Linked DNA regions of Homo sapiens: region 2 is linked to region 1. Evidence: promoter capture Hi-C in 16 types of primary human blood cells and fetal thymus (Javierre and others, 2016). All regions are on one chromosome and are shown on one strand. The core of a region is centred on a gene start or on the middle of the fragment in contact, and the rest is flanking DNA. Distances in the headings are between cores, read along the strand shown. Region 1 holds the start of COG3 (component of oligomeric golgi complex 3). Region 2 has its middle 49 kb from the start of GPALPP1.

What was found. Contacts are between HindIII fragments. The CHiCAGO score rates a contact against its expected background, and 5 or more counts as called.
Region 2: a contact is called between a fragment that was not itself captured here and the fragment with the promoter of COG3 in region 1, in 1 of 17 cell types (total CD8 T cells). The highest score is 5.4, in total CD8 T cells.

Annotation. Positions count from the first base shown.
Region 1 is chr13:45,463,238-45,469,366 of GRCh38, forward strand. COG3 (component of oligomeric golgi complex 3) reads left to right here and starts at 1,702. Exons shown (of 23, transcript NM_031431.4): 1 at 1,702-1,973. The coding sequence starts at 1,800. The HindIII fragment of the contact is 5,472 bases long and covers 1-5,380 here.
Region 2 is chr13:45,035,637-45,041,923 of GRCh38, forward strand. It overlaps a transcript of GPALPP1 not described here. Among named protein-coding and RNA genes, the nearest start is that of GPALPP1, 49 kb to the left of the region's middle. The HindIII fragment of the contact is 1,751 bases long and covers 2,851-4,601 here.

The DNA.
Region 1 (6,129 bases), core at 452-2,951:
TTGTACAGCAGGCAACTTGGAGAAGCTGTGGTATATAAAGGGTGTCAGACACAGTCAGGATATCTAAGTTCCAGTGGTGACGCTGATGTTAACCACCTGATTGCAGGATGTTAGGCTGCTTGCTTCACCTCTACGGGTTGTAGTTTGCTCCTCTGTAGACAGAAAGGGCTTGATTATATGATTTTAAAATTCTCTTCCAACTTCAAATTCTATTCTTTTTTTTTTTGAGACAGAGTTTAGCTCTTGTTGCCCAGGCTGGAGTGCAATGGTGCAACGTTGGCTCACAGCAACCTCCGCCTCCTGGGTTCAAGCGATTCTCCTGCCTCAGCCTCCCGAGTAGCTGGGATTACAGGCATGCACCTCCACGCGCAGCTAAGTTTTTTTGTATTTTTAGTAGAGACGGGATTTCTCCATGTTGATCAGGCTGGTCTCGAACTCCCGACCTCAGGTAATCCGCCCACCTCGGCTTCCCAGAGTGCTGGGATTACAGGTGTGAGCCACTGCGCCCGGTCTCAAATTCTGCTCTTAAAAGATCAGAGCCTTCATTTGGGAACATAGCCAGGCACTGATTTGTGCTATAAAGCCTGAATAAAGCCTTCAGACTTTACCCAGACAATGGTCAAAATTGCTACGAAGCTGTTTCCACCTGCCTTGACTCCAGGGAGGAGCAGGAAGAGGCCTCCATAACTTGTAGAAGATTGTCTGTTCTCCACCATTTATTTATTCAATCGTTTATTTATAGCAGTATGGACTCATGGGTATTTATTTTATTCTGTAAATTATGATCCAATACTATCATTATTTATTTTGTTGCTCAAATCTACAATATGATTTAAATGGTAGAGTAGAATTACATGTCTGTACCACAAATTATTATTATTATACATTTTGAGACAGTCTCACTTGATGCCCAGGCCGGAATGCAGTGGCAAGATCTCTGCTCACTGCAACGTCCACCTTCCAGGTTCAGGAGATTCTCCTGCCTCAGCCTCTCAGGCTGATTACTGGCATGTGCCACCACGCCTGGCTAATTTTTGTGCTTTTAGTAGAGACGGGGTTCAACCATGTTGGCCAGTCTGGTCTCAAACTCCTGACCTCAGGTGATACGCCCACCTCGGTCTCCCAAAGTGCTGAGATTACAGGCCTGAGCCCCCGCGCCTGGTCTGTGCCACAAATTCTTGATCCAGTTCTTCAATGTTGGACATTTAGGTTGTCTCCAGTTATTTGATACCATTAATGATGTCTGAGATACACACATCTTTGAATTTTTTATGTGTTTCCGTAAATTAGTTTTCTAGTAGGGGAATTACTGGATGTTGGAAAAGTTTATGCTTTTGGTTTTGATCCAAGAGGCATAAATTGTCAACATGCCAACATGGAAATCATACACTCCACACATTCTACCCAGACTACCCAGCTGTAAGCAGAGAGGTGTAGATCCAAGTCTCCTGCCGGCAGGGTGATTTAGCGCAGTTGTCAATAATCTGTACAACACGTAACAATAAAGTTATTGATGTTGAGGAAAAGACTTCCGGTAGGGGCATTTCTATTTCCATTGGGTCCTGTCTTCTCCACCTTCTACGTTTCAACCGGAAATAGTCGTACCCATTTAAAGCCACGTCGGTACTGGCCTCGGTCCCGCCCCCCACACTGCGGAACCGTTTCCGGGGTCAGGGCATTCCGTCCCGCCCCGCCGCCGGTGCAGTGTTGGAAGCTCCGGTTCTCCCGGAAGTGGCCCAGGTCTCTCTGTCGGGGTCCCCTCCATCTCGCTGCTGCTGAAGGCCGCGAGGGCGGCGGCGATGGCGGAGGCGGCGCTGTTGCTGCTGCCTGAGGCGGCGGCGGAGCGGGACGCTAGGGAAAAGCTGGCTCTCTGGGATCGGAGACCGGACACGACGGCGCCGCTGACCGACAGGCAGACGGACTCGGTATTGGAGCTGAAGGCGGCGGCAGAGAACTTGCCGGTGCCAGCTGAGGTGAGGTGATGGGCAGGAACCGGGCCGGGGCGATGGGGCTGGGATTCTCCTCGGGCGCCCCGGCAGGACCCCGGCCTCACTAGCCTCTGCCCAGGATATCTCTCCACTCCTCCCTGGCCATGGTGGCGGATCCGGTGGGAGGGGCCTCATCTCCCAGGCTGTCAGGCTTCGCTCTGCCTGCGACCCCGACTCTAATTCTGCCTGGGGACGGCTGTGGGGGTGTCCTGCAGCTGGTGCTCGCCGGAACCCAGTCCTCCCCCAGCAGCATGGGACGGTTGGCCCGGAGCCTTGCACCGAACGTTTTGCCCCAGACGAGGCGTCCTGTCAGCCGAGGCGTAATCCTGCTGCCCACTCTCTCCCAGAAGGAGAGGCAGTCAACCCGAGGTGCTGTGCTGCAGGACAGTCTCCAGCGCGTGCTCGTTTACCGCCTTAATGATTCACCTAGGTTGCTTTGTCCATGGGGGTCTTGGGGAGACCAAAACTTGGTCCTGAGTGAGTTTCATTTATCGCACATTGAACTATGAGCTCTCAATCAAGTGCAAGTTATGGGAGATCAGATTTATTTCACCTATTGCAAAGCAATAAAAATGAATTTTATTTGAAAGTTGGCTCAGTACATTATTAAGCAGTGCTGGTTTTCGGTGTTAGAGTCAATGTGTTTAATCCACTTACCATTAGGATATTATGCACTACTGCTTCTTGTGTGATTCAATTCAATTAGTTGTAATAGCAGGAAGTAACATGAATTGTCAGATGTTTGACAAACGTTTTCCAGTTTTGAGGGCCAGGTTTAGGAGGATTATTTTATATAAGCAGTGGTGATGGTTACTTTTGATGTTGGAAGCATTCTTTTCTCTCGCTCTGTCGCCCAGGCTGGAGTGCAGTGGCGTGACCTCGGCTCACTGCAACCTCCACCTCCCGGGTTCAAGCGATTCTCCTGTCTCAGCCTCCCGAGTAGCTGGGATCACAGGTGCCTGCCACTACACCCGGCTAATTTTTTGTATTTTTAGTAGAGATGGGGTTTCGCCCTGTTGTCCAGGCTGTTCTCGAACTCCTGACCTCAAGTGATCTGCCCGCCTCGGCCTCCGAAAATGCTGGGATTACAGTCGTGAGCCACCGTGCCTGGCCTGAAGCATTCTTTTTATACGATTTGGAATTGTGTCCAAATGCAGATTGAGTTTAGAGTCTTCAACTTTTTCTGTCCTCCAACTTTAGAGATTTGATTTAAACGTTCTCTTCACATTCACTGTTGTATGCTCAGCCATCAAATAGGCGTTCTTTCTTGGGTTTCTTTTTCCACCTCTAGGATATGGTACCGGAAGTGGATCTGAAATCAATGAAGGCGCAGGTGGAAATTTCTTTGGCTCAGCTATCAAACTCTTTTATACCCTGGATAATAAAAGTTGTTTGCTCTATAAATTTTCCAGTCTGTTTATAATTGATTTGGCTCCTACTGCAGCAGGATGCTTGGACTTAATAGCACTGAGGGTGTGATGGGGGAGATACATATTCTACAAAAAAATTTGTTTTCATTGTCATGGGTCATAAACTATTATTTCTTATTCTCATTGAGCATGAAGGAGAACGTTTGGAATGAACTAAATGGAATCTTTCATTTTCACCCCATTCTTCCATATTTATCATTAGCCACATGCAGTCTTTAACATATGTTATGTCCCTACTCTGAGTTAGGTATTGAAGATAGAAAGATAAATAGGAAAGATGAGATCCTTAGCCTCATAGAGCTGACATAATTGTGGGGATCATGAACATGGAAAAAAAGAACAAAGAAGGTATGTTCAGATGGTGGTCCATAATATAAGGAAAATCAGATAGGATGGTGTGACAGAAAAGGATGAGGTGTGCCCTTTTAGAGAAAGAGGGAAGACCTTTCCAAGGAAGTGACAGCCTGAGGTGAGAACTGATGATGGACTACCTGAAGCTAGCCTCATAAAGACTAAAGAAATAACATTGCAGCTGGAAGAAAGAACAGCATAAGGTCATGGGTAGAGGATGAGCTTAATGAGTTCAAGAATTCAGTGAGGGTCTTCTGGTACGTGCAGCTTGGTATTGGATTCCTGTGAGAATGCAATAGCTGAGGCCAGGTGCGGTGGCCCACGCCTGTAATTTCAGCACTTTGGGAGGCTAAGGCGGGAGAATCACTTGAGGTCAGGAGTTCAAGACCAGCCTGGCCAACATGGCGAAACACCATCTCTACTAAAAATATAAAAATTAGCTGGGTGTGGTGGTGCATGCCTGTAATCCCAGGTACTTGGGAGGCTGAGGCATGAGAATCACTTGAACCCAGAAGGCAGAGATTGCCCTGAGCCGAGATTGCACCACTGCGCTCCAGCCTGGGTGGGTGACAGGCAAGATTCTGTCTCAAAAAGAATGCAGTAGCCGAGCTGGTTATGCACACATCCTGGAATCTTTGAGAAGGCAGTTCTCATTGCTCTTCAGCTTTACAGCCCTCATTTTCCTTTTCTGAAGTGTTTATATGTCTGTTGGGAAGACTTTGGAATTAATTTTTTTAGCCCTATACTACTCTTTTAACATTGGCAGCAAAAGAGAGTGCCACAATTTTCATTTTGTCCAATCAGTATAACTCAAGGATTTTCTGTAGTGTTTCACAATTTTCACGAGATAAATTACTTCCTGAACAACTGGAACTGAGCAGGCTAGTAGAATAGCAAGAGGCCAACTAACTCTTAAGTACATATCATAAAGATGTTAACTTCTTTAGAAAATAGCTTTCTCTTTTATGAAAGAGAACTAGTCTTATCTTAAAAAGGAATTATGCCTTTTTTGGCATTAGAGAAAATAATTTACAATAGAATATTAGGTAGACTTTTGTAGCCAGGGCAAACTTAGTAGTGAGGGGCCTATTTCTTTCTGTTGAATTTAGTAATTCTTGATAAAGTGCTAAAATAATTTACCCCGACATTTACCTATAATTTACTGTTACAGCTGTTGTTTTCTTGTAGGCTGTGTGACCTTAGATGTGATGTTTATCTTTTCTAAGCCTTAATTTTCTTCTTTATAAAATGGGGACTTAACTCATGATGAGTACTTATCTCATAGGGAATTGTGAGAATTATGTGAAATCACGTATGCAAGGTGCACGTGGCAAGTTACTTGCTATTATTCTTGTGCTTTCTTTCAAATTATTAACATCTTAAAAGAATAGATTAGAATCCTGTGATGCTGAGCTGGTATAGGTGTCATTCAGACCAAAGGTAAGAAAAGGAGAGGTTAAGTGCCTTGAGGAAGGTTCTGAGACTCCACCTATACCTCTTCAGTAATTTGCTCCAAGCAGAGAACAAAACATCAGGTTTCATTTAGGGAATTAATTGATCAGATTGATTATAAAAGTGGTTTTCTCCAACCCAGAACTCTGCAAGAAGTAAAGCTTGGGAGAGAAAGGTATGTTACTTGTTATTTCAGGGACCTGCTCAGCTGGTCAGGCAAAGCTTGAGAATTTATTGTACTTACTATTTAATGTTAGTGTCTCCATTTGCATAAACTATACAGTAGCTCTGCAGCACTGGCCCATTAGCAATCTAGAACTGTGTTCTCTCTCTAGTGGTGTCTGTCTGCTCCATCTGGAAGCCAGGACAGTGCTGGTAAGCAGCAGGCATTCAGTCACCTCCTCCTGAGAAGTGAATGAGAGGTCAGAACAGGAAAGTGTGTGATACCACCACACCCCTTTTTGACTTGTCATTCTATACCAGGTGTTTTGAGAAAGGAAGGCAGCTGCCTAGTCTACTTAATGGGGGCATTTTCTCGTATGTTATTAAAAAGCAACTTGTTTTGCTACTTTAAAAAATGATTTGTTTGAAGTAATTGCATTATGGCTTCTCTCTTGCTTGGTTTGAGAGAAGATGGTTTTGTATTAGAACAAGGAAACAGGGAGCCTCCTTTTGCCTCTAGTTTTTAAAGTTCTTATGATTGAAAAGTAGTATTTGTACTTGAAGTAATCAAATAGAATACTCTTATAAATTTAGAATATATTTACTCACATCTAGGTTACAGAACATATCTGGAATATCTATAGTAGTTTCTCAAGTAGAGTTTTCAAATTATTTTATTTTCTAAAGTTAATTAGAAGATAAACTTTTTTTGGTTCAAGATAACAGACTGAGCACACGTGTATGAC
Region 2 (6,287 bases), core at 2,476-4,975, 430 kb before region 1:
AGAATTCTGGACATAGCAGAATGTTTTTACTTAGGGACTGAAAAATACAGTAGATCAGTCTGTCTCTTAATTTGTAATCCTTAAACTATTTCTATCAGAATCACCTAGGAGTTCATTTAAATGCAGATCTCCAGGCCCAAACCTATTGAATAGGAATCTTTGGGGTTAGAATCAGAGCATCTTCACTTTTAACAATTATCCCAGGCCATTCTTTGTAAATTCAAGTTTAAGAACCACTGCATTTATGGGCAGACAAGGTAGCTCACACCTGTAATCTCAGCACTTTGGAGGGCCAAGGTGGGAGGATTGCTTGAGGCCAGGAGTTCAAGGCTACCCTGGCCAACATGGTGAAACCCTGACTCTAAAAAGAAATTTAAAAAAATAATAACCACCGCACTTACATGTGTTCCTATAAACAATCCCCTCTCCTTTGTTATATGTTCTGTTTTCCTATTATATATTCCTAAATACATAATCACTTTACTTTGCATAGCAACAAACACCAGCACCAGCAATACTTGCCTCTTGAAGAATGGATTGTCACTTCTCTTGAGTGAATGCCTAAAAGCATTCACCCTTCAAACATCTACCAGCCAGTTGCTACAGTGATCAAGATTCTACTGCCATTGATAATTCAGTTTCATTGCACTTTGCCCTCTCTTCAGCACCTTTTAAAATAGATAAGTCCCTAAGAGGAATAGTCAGATTGTAGTTCCTTGTCCCTGGCTGACTTGGGGCCATTTAAGACTGAATGCCTCAGGAATGCAGAACATTGAAAAGGCAGGGAGCACAAAAAGGGAGCACTGGTGGGCTATAGATGATCTGCAAAGGATGGTCTCTACCTTATGACTATTTTCCTTGGGGGAATTAACCAGTTAATGTTACTTTGAGGTCTTAGATAACTGTGCTTTGGCAGCTAAGGTATTAACTTCAGAAGCAACTGAGTTTACTTTTAGATACCAGTTTCTGTATTTGCTGACAAAGAAAAGATAACAGTAGGTAAAAGAATGTTAAAAAGAAACAAAAGGCCAGGCACAATGCCTCACATCTGTAATCCCAGCACTTCAAGAGGCCAAGACAGGAGGATCACTTGAGGGCCAGGAGTTCAAGACCAACCTGGGCAACGTGGCATGACCCTGTCTCTACAAAAAAATAAAAATTAAAAATTATCTGGGCATGGTGGCATGGCATGCATCTGTAGTCCCAGCTACTCAGGAAGCTAAGGCAGGAGGATCACTTGAGCCCAAGAGTTCAAGGCTGCAGTGAGCTATGAACATGCCACTGCACTCCAGCCAGGGAGACAGAGAGACCCCATCTCTAAAAGAGAAAAAAAGAAAGCAATAAAATTCTGCAGAACTAGGTAGGAAAGACAATAAAAGCTACAAGGGTGCATCATTGTTTTGAGATCTAGACAAATTTCGAGAACCTATTCAAGAATATTGAAAAGTATTTCAAAGTTCATTTTCATATCTCTGATTACTTACCGCTGTCCTGCCCTTTAAAGCACTTCCATTTGTTTTCTTTATGATGGGGTAATGTTGGCCAAACAGGCTATATGATAAAGTATTTAGTCCTAGTTTTATCTTCATACAATCAGAGCTCTGAGATGAAAATAAACTTGTTCCTTTTTTATCACTAGGTACAAAACAACAAATGAAGTTGCTTATGTATATAATATGATGATTTTTGTCTTTTTAGGTAATGGCTGAAAGCAACACATTTTGCTAACCTAAGGATAAATAATACTATAATACCTAATTCACACTACACACTTAACAAAAGCAATTTATCATCAGCCTAAGATTGCTAATTTTTATAACAGGTACAGACATAATTAACTTAATATTGACCAGCAAATAAATCTAGAAATTGTGCTTATTCTTTAGTATTCATTTTAACTGAATTTAAATTAGTGTTTTTCCCTAACAGCCTTGTATATTGCTTAATAAAATTGTCATATTTGAAAACAGAGATTCTTAAAGTTTAAAATGCTTGCAGTCAAATGACAGTTTATCAATAAAGATTTAAAACTATCTTTTAACCTGTCAGTTTGTAAGATGCTAATCAATCCATTATACTGTGTTGCCTCTAAGAAAATGACATGAAAAGATGGTTTCAGAATATTTCTTTCTACCAGCAAATCATAAAGAGCTTTTTAAAATCACATTTATAGTCTTTCCAGTGAGCTTATGTGAACACACAGTGGGGCTGCATCTTTATTGAGTATTTACCAGAACTGAGTAATATCTAGGCTTAGGTGAATGGAAGGTGATAGTTGAACAAAAATGATGACCAATTTAGTCAGCAAAATCGATGTCTTTCCAACTTTGATGTGAATCAGAATCCCCTGGGAGCTTATTACAAACATAGATGCCCTAACCTTCCAGAGGATTTTGTTTTGTTTTGTTTTTTTGGAGACAGAGTCTCATTCTGTTGCCCAGACTGGAGTGCAGTGGTACACATCTTGGCTCACTGCAACTTCTGCCTCCCAGGCTCAAGCGATTCTCCTGCCTCAGCCTCCTGAGTAGCTGGGACTACAGGCATGCACCACCACACCAGGCTATTGTCTGTGAGTAAAGACGGGGTTTTCACCATGTTTGCCAGGCTAGTCTCAAACTCCTGGTCTTAAGTGATCTGCCCACCTCAGCCTCCCAAAGTGCTGGAATTACAGGTGTGAGCCACCATGCCCAGCCAATCAGAAGTTTTGATTCCATCTATAGGTTTGGGGTTGGGCCCAATAGATGGTTGGGCCGTCTATTTTGGGCAAGCTGCCCAGGTGATTCTGTGTACCCTGAAGTATGAGAATCCAACTTGGTTTGGTCTGAACATGACATTTCTAGAGGTTCTTAAAGCTTAAAATGTTTGCAGTCAAACCACAGTTTAGAGTCTAACATTAATAGAATCAAGATTAAGATTTCTAGAATCAAAGATGTTGGATGGTTGTCAGATTGTGGCCACTGAGCCTCTTGATTCAAAAGATAGAAGGCAAAACTCATTTTCCTAGGCTCCCTTGCTGCTAGAGCACAAGTATGTGGCCTGGCCTCTGCCAATCAGATGCACCCACGTGCAGTTGGTATTCCAAGAGATAAGGGAAGAAGTTGGCATTCCCAGAATCGTCTTCTGATGGGCATATTAGTGGACACGGACTGATCTTCAACAGCAGCAGAGGCGGCATGTCTGGCACCCAGTCCCAAGCATCAGTGGTGTCAACTGCTGTGGCTGTGAGACTGGGGTTTCTCTAGAGGAGCATTGCAGTGTGGGTGGATATATTCCTGCTTATATAACTTCTGGTCAGCTTAAACTAATCAGAGTATACTACTTTGTTTGCAACTAAGCCCTGACTAACATACGGAAGTTATACCATGCCAGTTAACCATGGTATAAACTTTGGAGACAGCAGCCTGCAGTCAATTCCTATGTAAACACTAGCTTTGTAAACCTGAGAAAGGTTCTTAACCTATTTCAGCTGTAATTTATTTGTCTCTTAAATGGGCAATAATAACTCACAAGATGTTACCAGGATTACATGAGATGACATATTTAAATAATTAGCACAAAATCCAGCAATAAATGATGGTGTCGTTATTGTAGCCCCCTGGCTATTAGATGCACTCAGACAACTCTGGTAAACAGGCTCACTTATTTCTTACAACCTCAGAAGATTCCTGTATTGGGACTCTTTGCAGTAAGTGATAGCAACTCAACTCAAATTGGCTTAATCAAAAAAAGATAGTTTATTCACTCATGTGGCCAGGCACAGTGGCTCACACCTGTAATTCCGGCACTTTGGGAGGCCAAGGCAGGAGGACTGCTTGAGGCCAGAAGTTCAAGACCAGCCTTAGCAACATAGGAGACCACGTCTGTACAAAAAATTTTTAAAAATTAGCTAGGGACCGGGTGCGGTGGCTCACGCCTGTAATCCCAACACTTTGGGAGGCCGAGGTGGGCAGATCACGAGGTCAGGAGATTGAGACCATCCTGGCTAACACGGTCAAACCCTGTCTCCACTAAAAATACAAAAAATTAGCCGGGCGTGGTAGCAGGTGCCTGTAGTCCCAGCTACTTGGGAGGCTGAGCAGGAGAATCACTTGAACCGGGGAGGCGGAGGTTGCAGTGAGCCAAGATTGGGCCACTGCACTCCAGCCTGGGCAACTGAGTGAGACTCCATCTCAAAAAAAAAAAAAACAAAAACAAACAAAAATTAGCTGGACATGGTGGTGTGAGCCTGTAATCTCAGCTACTTGGGAGACTGAGACGGGAAGTTGAGGCTGCAGTGAGCCATGTTGACGCTACTGGACTCCAGCCTGGGCGACAAGAGTGAGACCCCTTCTCAAGAAACTAATTAAAAATAAAAGATTTTTTTTTAAATAAAAATAATAAAAAACAAAAACAAGTTAAAAGGAAAAAAAGGAAGCAAAAAAAAAGAAAAAAGAAGATAAAGATTTATTCACTCATGTAATGAAAAGTCCAGACTGTAGCCCTGGCTTTAGGCACAACTGGATCTGGGTGCCCAAAATGTGTCACAGGATTCTGTCTCTCTTCCTCAGCCTGCCTTCCTTTGTGTGAATTTCATCCTCAGGTGGGCTTCCTAGACAGTGACAAGCTTGATAGCAGCATGTCTAAAGTGACGTTCTGCCAGTTTAACCAACCAGTGAAAAGAAAGCTGCTCTTTCCTGCCAAAGTCCAAGAACTGATGCTGATTGGCTCATCTTTGGTCACTTGTTCACCCTAAATCAATCACATGGACAGGAGATAAAACACCCAATAGCCCAGGCTAGTTCCTGTCTCTACCCATGGAGCCAAAGGGTGGGTTAAACTCTATCTAAACCACCTAGAACAAAAACTTGGCAGGGTAGTTCCCTAAAAGAAAGTGGAAATGTTATCATTGGAAACAAAGATTACACATACTATAAAGGCAAAAACATCTGATGCTATGGCTCCGTCTCACCTTTGATTCCCACCAGTTTTCTAATGAGAATACCAACATTGTGTTTACCAAACTGCGGTCTCACCCACCTAACCTGTCCATTCATCTCAGGTTTACCAATGTTAGCATCTGGCCATTGTGAACCCCCTTTTCATTAGATATCTGCTAGTCCTGTCTCATGGTTATGAATTTTCATGTGCAGAGGGGATGGGGCACATGCACACATCGACATGCTTCAGAGATGACTCAGCCAGGGTGGGTGCCACCCAGTAAGATGGCGTTGTTTCTAAAATGCCTGCTCCTCCCTCCTGATTTGCTTCCATCACATCCTCTGACATCAAGAAGTACATTTAGCACAAACAAGGTAGATGAGAAATGAGCTGTCACAGTTTATTCACCACATTCTGCTGCAATTTATAAATCACAGTACAATTCAAAATGATTTATTTAGCCTTTCCATCTAAAAAAAAAAAGAAAGGGAAATGAAAAAAATATGAAGGATTACCAGCTCCAACCCAATCAATAGCAAGGAAGCCTGCTTAACTCTGCCAATTAATCGTGTCTCTTGGATATGAGATGTCCAATGACAGGAGGCTTGGAGAGAGGTTAGCCAAAGTCAAAACCAGATTCACCGTCACTTCAAGCTCAAGGGGTCTAGAGTTAGCTGCTCCCAGCTAACCATTATCATTGGTTGAGGGCACTGGTAGGCCACTGGATTCCTCAGCTTGTTCTGCAGTTCTCTAGCCTCTGTGTACCACAATGTTTCCCTAAAGGAAACTGGAGGTATTGTTACCAAAAGAAGATAATGTATTCTGGGTAGGTAAAAACATAAAGAGGAAGAAAGAAACTACAATCAGTAAAAAGCCTGACATAGAGTAGTTCGAAAAGGAATTGTTAAAGCATTGTAGAGAGGTAGGTATTTAATAAATGGTTGTTTATAATTAGCAATCAAATGTGATGCTATAATCCTGCTGGCCTCCCATACATGGCCATTAGATAACTTGTAAATGTATTATTCTAAAGAGAATAGAAGGGCAGGCGTGGTGGCTCCCACCTGTAATCCCAGCACTTTGGGAGACAGAGGCAGGGGGATCACTTGAGGTCAGGAGTCCAAGACCAGCCTGGCCAAGATGGCAAAACCCCATCTCTACCAAAAATACAAAAATTAGCCAAACATGGTGACACATCCCTGTAGTCCCAGCTACTTGGGCAGATGAGGCAGGAGGATCACTTGAACCCAGGAGGCGGAGGTTGCAGTGAGCCAAGATCATGCCACTGCACTCCAGCCTGGGTGACAGAGCAAGACTCTGTCTCAAAAAAAAAAAAGGGAAGGTATTTTTTTTCTTACATAGGTAAATAT